2 separate regions of the Homo sapiens genome follow, and region 2 is linked to region 1. The links are contacts of gene promoters, found by promoter capture Hi-C in blood cells and fetal thymus (Javierre and others, 2016). All regions are on one chromosome and are shown on one strand. The core of a region is centred on a gene start or on the middle of the fragment in contact, and the rest is flanking DNA. Distances in the headings are between cores, read along the strand shown. Region 1 holds the start of PGAM2 (phosphoglycerate mutase 2). Region 2 overlaps CAMK2B (calcium/calmodulin dependent protein kinase II beta).

Region 1 (4,640 bases), core at 1,139-3,638:
TGGTGGTGCTGTCCATAGTTCCCTCAGCCCAGTGTGACTCCAGCCAGACTGAAGTTGAGGGTCAGGAAGGGACACTCACCCTTTGTTTTTTTTTTTTCTTTTCTTTTTCTTTTTCTTTTTTTTGAGATGGAGTTTTACTCCTCTTGCCCAGGCTGGAGTGCAGTGGCACGATCTTGGCTCACTGCAACCTCCATCTCCTGGGTTGAAGTGATTCTGCCTCAGCCTCCCAAGTAGCTGGGATTACAGGTGAGCGCCACCACACCCGGCTAATTTTGTATTTTTAGTAGAAACGGGTTTTACCATGTTGGTCAGGCTGGTCTCAAACTCCTGACCTCAGGTGATCTGCCTGCCTCAGCCTCCCAAAGTGCTGGGATTACAGGAGTGAGCCACCGTGCCCAGCACCCTTTGGTTTCTAAAGTGCTCTAAATTCTAGACATCCTGAACAGAGGAGCAAGTGCGGAATGGAGCTGGAGGAGGGACAGGGAGGCCGAGCCTGGTCGAAACCTGACCCTGCCTGCCTCCTGCAGCCCCTGAGCTGGGAATAGCAGCTCGACCTTTGATGTTCGCGCCACTCCACCCCTGCTCCGTGCAGGAGGGTTTAAGAAAATGTTCTCTGGGGAGTCAGAGTGAAATCCCTCATATTCACCACCAAAAGTGCGTCCCCTTTCCCCAAACCAGGCTGTGGGAGGGTCATGGGGCTGCATGAAGTCTCCGGAAGGGAGAGGAGGCAGGTGGTCCTTCCCTCTGCCTGGCCCCAGTGCCAGGTGCCAGGTGTCCGTGTTTGGAGCGGGCAGGCTTGGGGCTGGCTGGGTCTCCGGGGCCTGCCGGTCTGGGTGCTCTGGCCAACTGCCCAACGGCCCTAGGAGCAGGAGGTCTGGGGCACACCCTTCTAGCCTTTCCAGGACTCAACAAGCTTTAAGGTCATTCAGATGCTAATTTAGACTGCCCTTGTGTCAGAATACTAAGGTGGGAGGCGGAGCGGAGGTGCCAGTCACTCTGGGCGAGGCCTTACTGCGCCCATGCATCCCGGGCCCATTTGTCAGCCCTTGCTCTTCAGTGGGAGCCCAGCTGCAAGCCCAGAGTCTGGCCACTCCATAGTCCTGCACCCCTCTTTTGATTGGTCTTTCCTTTGCCCAGAGAGGGGCTCCAGAGGGAGATAGGTGGTGAAGCTCATGCAGGGATTCTGAGGACCTGATGGGGGAGGGCCCTGCGAGGGGTCCAAGCCTACATCAAGAGGAATTCAGTACCAGGGGGAGCTCCCCACCACCCCGGAAAAGGGAGAGGCCCAGAGATGGAGGTGGCTTGTCCAGGGCCCCACAGTAAGTTGGGATTTGGAGCCAGATGCTCTAAGCCCAGCCCTTCCGTTTCCTAGCTGGGTGTCCCTTGGCAGATGCCACCTTTGGAGCCTGCCCCACCTCGGGACACAGCGAGCTTCGAGTGCAGTCAGCCCCTGTGGAGTGTGTCCCAGTTACACAGAAATGGGGAAAATTTCACAAAACTAAAAAATGGCTTCTCAGCCCTCCTTTTTCAGTGAATGATGTGGAGCCCCACGCCTAGAAAGCCTGGTCCATGGGCGAGAGACTTTGCTGAGATGAGAAGCCAGCTGGGGCTGCTGCCCACCCACCCTGCCCAGGCTCCTGAAGGTGGCCTCACCTTCCAGGTGCTTGACAATGCCCCGCAGGCTGTTCCCGTGGGCTGCAATGAGCACTCGCTTGCCGGCCTTGATCTGGGGAACAATCTCCTCGTTCCAGAAGGGCAGGGCCCGGGCAATGGTGTCCTTGAGGCTCTCGCAGGTGGGGAGTTCCCCGGGCTTCAGGCCTGCGTACCGACGCTCCTGGGGGACACAGGCACGCTGCTTTCCCTCCCAAGCCAGTGGGCCCCCACCCGACTCCCCACTCTGCAGCTTCCCAGAGGCCTTCCCAGCAAAGGCAGCCCACCTTGCTAATGGAGTTGTAGTAGGGGTGCTTCTCGTCCATCGGGGGCGGCGGGATGTCGAAGGAGCGCCTCCAGATCTTCACCTGCTCCTCCCCGTGCTTGGCGGCCGTTTCTGCCTTGTTGAGGCCTGTGAGGCCCCCGTAATGCCGCTCATTGAGGCGCCAAGTGCGCACCACAGGCAGCCACATCTGGTCCGTGCCGTCCAGGATGGCCCAGAGGGTGCGGATGGCCCGCTTCAGCACTGACGTGTAGCAGATGTCAAACTCCATCTTGGCATCCTTGATGGCCTTGGCTCCCCGCTTGGCCTCCTCGGTCCCCTTTTCACTCAGCTCTGCATCGAACCAGCCACAGAAACGGTTCTCCTGGTTCCATGTGCTCTCGCCGTGCCGGACCATCACGAGGCGGTGAGTGGCCATGGTGGCAGCAGGGACCACAGAGGACTCTGGACGGGGACGGCTGCTTCCCAACACTCCCAGCTTTATAATAGTGTCTTCCCAGCCCCCACCCACCCCAGCCAACTGCCAATCAGCATTCCAGGCGGTGGCAGGTGACCAGTAGCTGAGCTGCTGGGGGCTGGGGGCCAGGGGAGTGTGCAGGCCAAGAGGCTGTGCTTAAAATAGCCCCACGCATCCACCAGCTCCTGGCCTGGGTTCAGGTGGCATGTCTATAACCAGCTGGCACCCAGAGCCCAGACTGAGTGGGGCTGCTGGTCAGGGATGGGCGTGAAGGGCAGAAGTCTGGGCCAGGGGAGATGGGGATAGCAGGGACAGAGGGGCTCTCCAGGGCAACGCTCAGTGGCCTATCAGCCATTCTCTGCTCAGACAGAGGCACAAACAAAATCCCAACCCCTTTCTCCTGTGATTGGCAGCCAGGCTAGGAGGCGGCCCTCAGCAGGCAGAGGAGGAGAGCCAGAGGAGCTGGTGCAGACCACAGCTTTGTGGAGAGGAGTCTGGCCTTGTGGAAGGTACCAGGCAGCAGCAGCAGAATGGGCAAGGGCTGGGGCTGAGCCGGGTTTCCAGGACAAAGGGGGAAAGGGCCCCTGTCTTTCCTCCGGGGTCCCTTTGTCAAGGTCTCATCCATACATGCCCCATGCTCCCACCCTATCTGCCCTCACCCAAGCCACGCTCACTCTCCTAGCCGAAACCACCTTGAAAAAGAGAAATCCAAGGGGGTTTGGGGGCAGGACTGAGGACTGTCAGAAGTCTTGATTGTTAGGTAAATGCTCAGCTTAGCAGGAACCCACAACGTAGGCTGAAGGGTGGCACGGAGTTGAGTCTAGGACCAAGACTTCTGCATTCAGGTTTGGGGGATGAGAGCCACCAAGGCAGGGAAGAGACTATGAGCAATAAAGTCACAATTGGGGCCCTAATGAAGGGGCCATGGCCAGACCCTTGGGCATGGGCCCCATCCAGGGCCTCCCATTTCCTCCCACCCCAGTGACCACACTGTCACCTGCGACACTTCTGATAACAGGAGCGGGTAGGTGAGAGGCCAGCAGAGGGACCACCACTCTGAGACTTGGATCTGAGTGTGCAAGAAACCCTCGACAGGCCTCCCTCCATCCCTGCTGGCCTACCTGGGGAGGGGCTCCTGGCTTGGGGCCTGTGAAGCTAAGGCTCTGTACCCAAAGGTTGGCAGACAAGTCCCAGTGGGCAAAGTCCTGTCGGCTGCCAGGACCCCCAAGGCTGGCAGGTGGAACCCATCCCTCCTAGCAGTGCCATGCGCAGGTCTCACTGTTCCACACTGATCCTGATTGAAGCCACATCTCCTCATCTGCTTTTGTCCCTTTGACCAAGAGTTGATTCACTAGCCCAACTAAACATGACTGAGGACCAGGCTCTGGCAGTCCCACAGGGGCCAGACATGAAGCCCATATTTCAGTGGAGGAGGGATCGTACCAGCAGCTAAACATGCCTACCGTAGATAGCACCAGATGCTAGGAAGGAAGGACCATAATGTACTGGGAGAGATGGGAAAGGAGAGGCCGGGGACAGCCCTGAGGTGACATGTGAGTGGAAAGAGCGGAGTGCAAAGGCCTCAGCTATGATGAGTCCTACAGGGAGAGCAATTCAGGTAGAGGGGTTGGCAAAGACCCAAGCCCTACAGAAAGCAAACAAGCTGGGGCAGCGACCATCAGGGGCACATGGCAGAGAGGTGGGCTTTGTGTCCCAACACAGTGGGAATCACTGGAGACTTTGAAGCATGGTCATATTTTCAAGTCACTTGCAGCTGTGTAGGAGTGGAAGTAGAAGCTGAGTACCCTGCAGGTCTCGGCAGCTTTGATGAGAACAAGGCCGCTTAGCCAGGGCTGGGTGCAGAAGCAGTGGCAAGGATCCCCCAGACCTGGGAGACCTCACTGCCAACCAAGCAGGAGGTGTCAAAAAGGAAAGGGGAGCCCAAAGAAGGGCTGGACTTCGGGGAAGCAAGCCCCTGCTTCTGACCCTTGGCTCCGGCTTGACTTTCCTTTGATTCATTTGACAAGTAGTTGCTGGCCTCTGCAGTGTGCCAGAGCTTTCTTGGAGGGGTACAGGGGTAGGAAAACCAAAAGCCACCCTCAGGGCCTCCATCCAGGAAGGCATAGCATGGTGGGCGGCGAGGAAGGCTGCTGAGTCAACAAGGTGGTCCCAGGAAGGTGGAGGGAGCATCTTCCCATGTCTCTCCCACTGACAGCCACCAATCCTGGACAGATGCAGGAGCAGCTGTCA
Region 2 (4,648 bases), core at 2,099-4,598, 250 kb after region 1:
GGCCTTTTGCGACTGGCTTCTTGCACTGAGCATGACGTTTTGAACGTTCGTCCACATTTCAGCATGTGTCGGTGCTTATTAGCATTTCATTCCTTTTTATGCCTGAATAATATTCCACTGTATGACTATAACACATTTTTCTCACGCATTCAATCAGCTGGTGGACATCTGGGCTGTTTCTACTTTTTGGCTATTATGGATAATGCTGCTATGAACCAGTTTTTGTGTGGACATATGTTTTCATAGCTCTTGGGCATATACCTAAGAATAGAACATTTTGAAGACCCACCAAAGTATTTTTCATAGTAGCTGTGCCATTTTACATCCTCACCAGCAATGAATGAGCATTCCAACTTCACACCCTCACCAACACTTGCTATTATCTGTCTTTTCGACAGTAGCCATCCTAGTAAGAGTGAAATGGCATCGCATGATGGTTTTGAATTGCATTTCCATAATGATGCCAAAATCTTTTCATGTGCTGTGGGCTATTTGTTACCTATTTTAGAGAAATGTCTAAGTCCTTTGCCCATTTTTTAATTAGGTTGTTTCTTCTTACTGTTAGGTAGTAAAAGTTCTTAAAGTATTCTGAATACAAATTCCTTACCAGACAGATGGTTTGCAAATATTTTCTCCCATTCTATGGACTATTCTATTCCACTTTCTCAATGGTGTCCTTTGAATACAAAAGTTTTCACTGTTAATGAAGCCCAACAGCAAAACTATTTTTCTTTCGTTGTTTATGCTTGTGGTGTCATATCTAAAAAACCATTGCCTAATACAAAGTTGCAAAGATTTACTCTTATGTTTTCTTCTAAGAATTCTGTGATTTTAGCTCCTACATTTAGATCTATTATTTATTTTGAAATAATTTTTGTATATGGTGTCAAGTACAGCTCCAACTTCATTCTTCTGCATGTGGATACTCAATTGTCCATTTGTTGAATGGACCGTTATTCTTCTCCACTGGAATTGTCTTGGCACCCTTGTAAAAAATCAACTGAACATAGATGTATGGATTTATTCTACACTCTCAATCCTATTTCACTGATCTATGTATTTATCCTTATGTCAACACCACACTGTCTTGATTGCTGTAACTGTGTAGTTAGTTTTGAAATCAGAACCCGTGAGTCCTCTGACTTTGTTCTCCTTTTTCAAGATTGTTTTAGCTATTTTGGGTCTCTTGCATTCCTATGTGAATTTTAGGGCCAGGTTGTCAATTTTTGCAAAAAACGCAGCTGGAATTTTCATAGCAAAAATGTAGGTCAATTTGGAGTATACTACTATTTAACAATATTAAATATTCCAATCCATGAACATGGGATGTCTTTCCATTAATTTAGGTCTTCTTTAATTTCTCTCAACAGTGGTTTGTGGTTTTCAATGTACAAGTCTTGTACTTCTTTTATTAAATTTAGTATTAAGTGTTTTATTTTTTAGATGCTATTGTAAATTGTTTTTCCTAATTTTGTTATTTTGAACTTCTAGTCCATTGAAATACAATGGATTTTTGTATATTGGTCTTACATCTTGCAACTTTGCTAAATTCATTTTTTAGTTCTAATAGTTTTTTAAATGGATTCCTTAGGATTTTCTATATACGAAAGCATGTAATCTGAAAAGAGAGGTAGCTATAACTATTTATTTCCAATCTGGGAGCCTTCTATCTCTTTTTCTTGCCTAATTGCCCTGGCTAGAATCTCCTATACCGTGCTGCCTAGAAATGGAAAGAGCAGATACATTCAGTTTTCCACCATTAAATATGAGGTTAGCTGCAGATTTTTCACAAATGTATTTTATCAAGTTAAGGAAGTTCCTTTCTACTTGTCATTTGTTGAGTTTTTATCATGAAATGGTATTGGTTTTTTTTTAAATGCTTTTTCTGCATCTATTGAAATGGTTCATATAGTTTCAATGTTTGTTCTATCAACGTGGTGTATTATATAGATTGATTTTTGTATGCTGAATGAACCTTTCATTCTTGGGATACATCCTACTTGTTCATAATGTATAAATAATCCTTTTTATATGTTGCTAGATTTATTTTGCTAGTGTTTTGTTGAGGATGCTTCATCTGCATTCATAAGTGATAACAGTCTGTAGTTTTGTGATATCTTTGGTTTTGGTATTAGGGTATTGCTGGCTTCACAGAATGAATTGGAAAGAATTTCCTCCTCTTCTACTTTTTGGGGGAGCTTGTAAAAGACTGGTATTAATTCTTCTTTAAATGTTTGGTAGGATTTACCAGTGAAATTATCTGAGCCTAAGCTTTCCTTTGTGGGAAAATTTTAAATTACTAAGTCAGTCTCTACTTGTTATAGGTCTATTCAGATTTTCTATTTCTTCTTGAGCCAGATTCAGTAGTTTGTGTCTTTCTAAGTATTTGTCCATTTCATCCAGGTTATCTAACTTGAGGGCACATAATTATTCATAGTTATTTCCTTATAATTTTTTTTCTGTAAGGTTGGCAGTAAGGTCCCCTGTGTCATTCCTGATTTTAGCAATTGGAGTCTTCTTTTTTCTTGGCTTTACCATCCTTTTTATAATAATAACCTTCCTCCTAACTAGCACTCCTGAGTCTTCTTAATTATTCTCAGAGGTATTAATCACCTTCTACCCTATCATATAATTTTTTTAGTATTTATGTTTATTGCCTGCCTCTATCCAGCAGTATATAAGCTCCCTAAGGGCAGGCATCCTTGACTGCTTTGTTCACTACTGTTTCCCAAGCACCTATGGCACATGGTAAGTACAGGCAACCAGACTTGCTGAATAAATGAATAAGTCTTCAGGAGAGCAAAAGAAATCTGGAACAGACTAAGACAGCTATGACTGTAACTATTATCCTTAAAAGAAACCAGGAAAAATGAAAAAAAAAAAAAAAAGCATGGTGATTTTGAAGCTCTGGCCCTGTGTTGTCCAATACTGTGGTCACTGTCACCATGTAGTCATAAGAACCTGGTCCAAACTGAGATGTGCCGTAAGGGTAAAATACACACCAGATTTCAAGACGTAGTACAAAAAGGAATGCAAAATAGCTTAATAATTTCTGTTTTGATTACATGTTGAAATGATTTTTTAATTTTTGTACAGATGGGGTTTTGCCATGTTGCCCACGGTCTCTAACTCCTGGGCTCAAGTGATCCACCCACCTTGGCCTCCCAAAGTGCTGGGATTACAGGCACGAGCCACCGCACCAGGCCTCTGAATGATATTTTGGATATAAAGTTAAATAAATATATTTTTAAAGTTCCTTTCACCTGTTTCTTTTTTTTCTTTACGTACTAGAAAATTTTTAATCACACATATGGCTCAACTTTGTATCACATTTTATCTCTTCTGGACAATGCAGCTCTCGACAACTTGGATGGGGTGGGCGGTGGGGTAGTAATGTCATTGTGAATGTAGAGAAAATGAAGGTAAACTTCAAATTCATGCCTAGGTGGGCTCTGAAAGAACCAAGGGTTATATGAAGGAGTGTGGGCTTAGGCGAGTGTCTGGCCTCAGGTGCAGACTCCTCTGCAGAGTCTAGGTATGCAGTGCCCATTGGAATCACCTGGGAGCTTTTAAAAACTGCTGATACCCCATTTCCCTAGTGTCTGGCTAAATGCGATGGGGCCTGAACACTCCTCAGGGGCTTCCCATGTGTGGTTGGGGTTGAGAACCACCACATGGTCATCTTCTTTGGGAGGGCCTGCTCCTAACCAGACTCCTACCCTTTGCCCAGAAAGCCCCTAACTAATGGCCTGGATCAAACTCACAGACGCTGAGAATCAGGCAGCACCTCAACAAACAAGAAGTCATGTGAACAACCTCATTAAGAAATTAGCTGAAAGCTGCAAGCCTCTTGGAGTCAAGCTCCATGACAGACATATAAGTGCTGACAGCCCTGCTACTGCATTTCACCGGGTGACAAGACTGTCTACCCAGACTGGACATCAGAATACCCGCAAGACCTACCTGCAGAGCCACCCAATACCTCTTATAAGGCCCTCATCTTTTACAGGGTGGGTGTGCCACTGCTCTGGGAAGCAGTCCCAGGTGCAAGGCCTGAGTGACCCAGACCATTGCTGAGTCACTGTGGAGCACCTACTGTGTGCCAGGCACTGTTCTCAGCACTTGAATTCAGGGTGTGTTGGGTGACAGAATCAAGGCTCCTCAGCTCCTTGCTGGAAACGGCACTCACTGGGATGTGCTTGACACCCAGAGGGCATTACAGCAAAAGGCATAACACCTGCAGTACTTCATTGTAAGGGCGACAGCAGCTCCTGCCCTCCAGGCTTCTCTTGCTGCTCACAAAGTGAGGAAACAAGGACTGTGGGTCCCAAATTCCACCCTGTACAAGTGTGCCATTATGCTTCCTCCCATAAAATCTTCTTAAATCTTTGCCTGGTTGTTGCCAATCTGTTCTAGAATTCAACAAAAGCTTCTGTCTGGCTTAACAAAGAATCATAACTTAAGTTATTTTTGGATAATTATGTCAATACAAAAAGAACTATGTCCACCAGGAACTGAGCCCTCAACAAGTGACCCTCTAACCCAGGAGACAAAAGCCACCCAAAAGTTTGGCAGCTAGCAACACCACCTTTCTCTAACATAAAAGGATGTTTTCATTTTAAATAAATTCAAGTTTTTCTATGAATAA

The links. Contacts are between HindIII fragments. The CHiCAGO score rates a contact against its expected background, and 5 or more counts as called.
Region 2: a contact is called between a fragment that was not itself captured here and the fragment with the promoter of PGAM2 in region 1, in 1 of 17 cell types (endothelial precursors). The highest score is 5.5, in endothelial precursors.

The regions. Positions count from the first base shown.
Region 1 is chr7:44,063,179-44,067,818 of GRCh38, forward strand. PGAM2 (phosphoglycerate mutase 2) reads right to left here and starts at 2,389. Exons shown (of 3, transcript NM_000290.4): 1 at 1,938-2,389; 2 at 1,654-1,834. The coding sequence starts at 2,351. It overlaps DBNL (drebrin like), which reads left to right. Exons shown (of 13, transcript NM_001014436.3): 13 at 1-4,640. RefSeq lists enhancers at 972-1,081, 1,726-1,785, 1,976-2,025, 2,086-2,155 and a silencer at 3,336-3,405. The HindIII fragment of the contact is 4,752 bases long and covers 912-4,640 here.
Region 2 is chr7:44,314,377-44,319,024 of GRCh38, forward strand. All of the region lies in intron 1 of CAMK2B (calcium/calmodulin dependent protein kinase II beta), which reads right to left. Among named protein-coding and RNA genes, the nearest start is that of CAMK2B, 8.9 kb to the right of the region's middle. The HindIII fragment of the contact is 2,158 bases long and covers 2,270-4,427 here.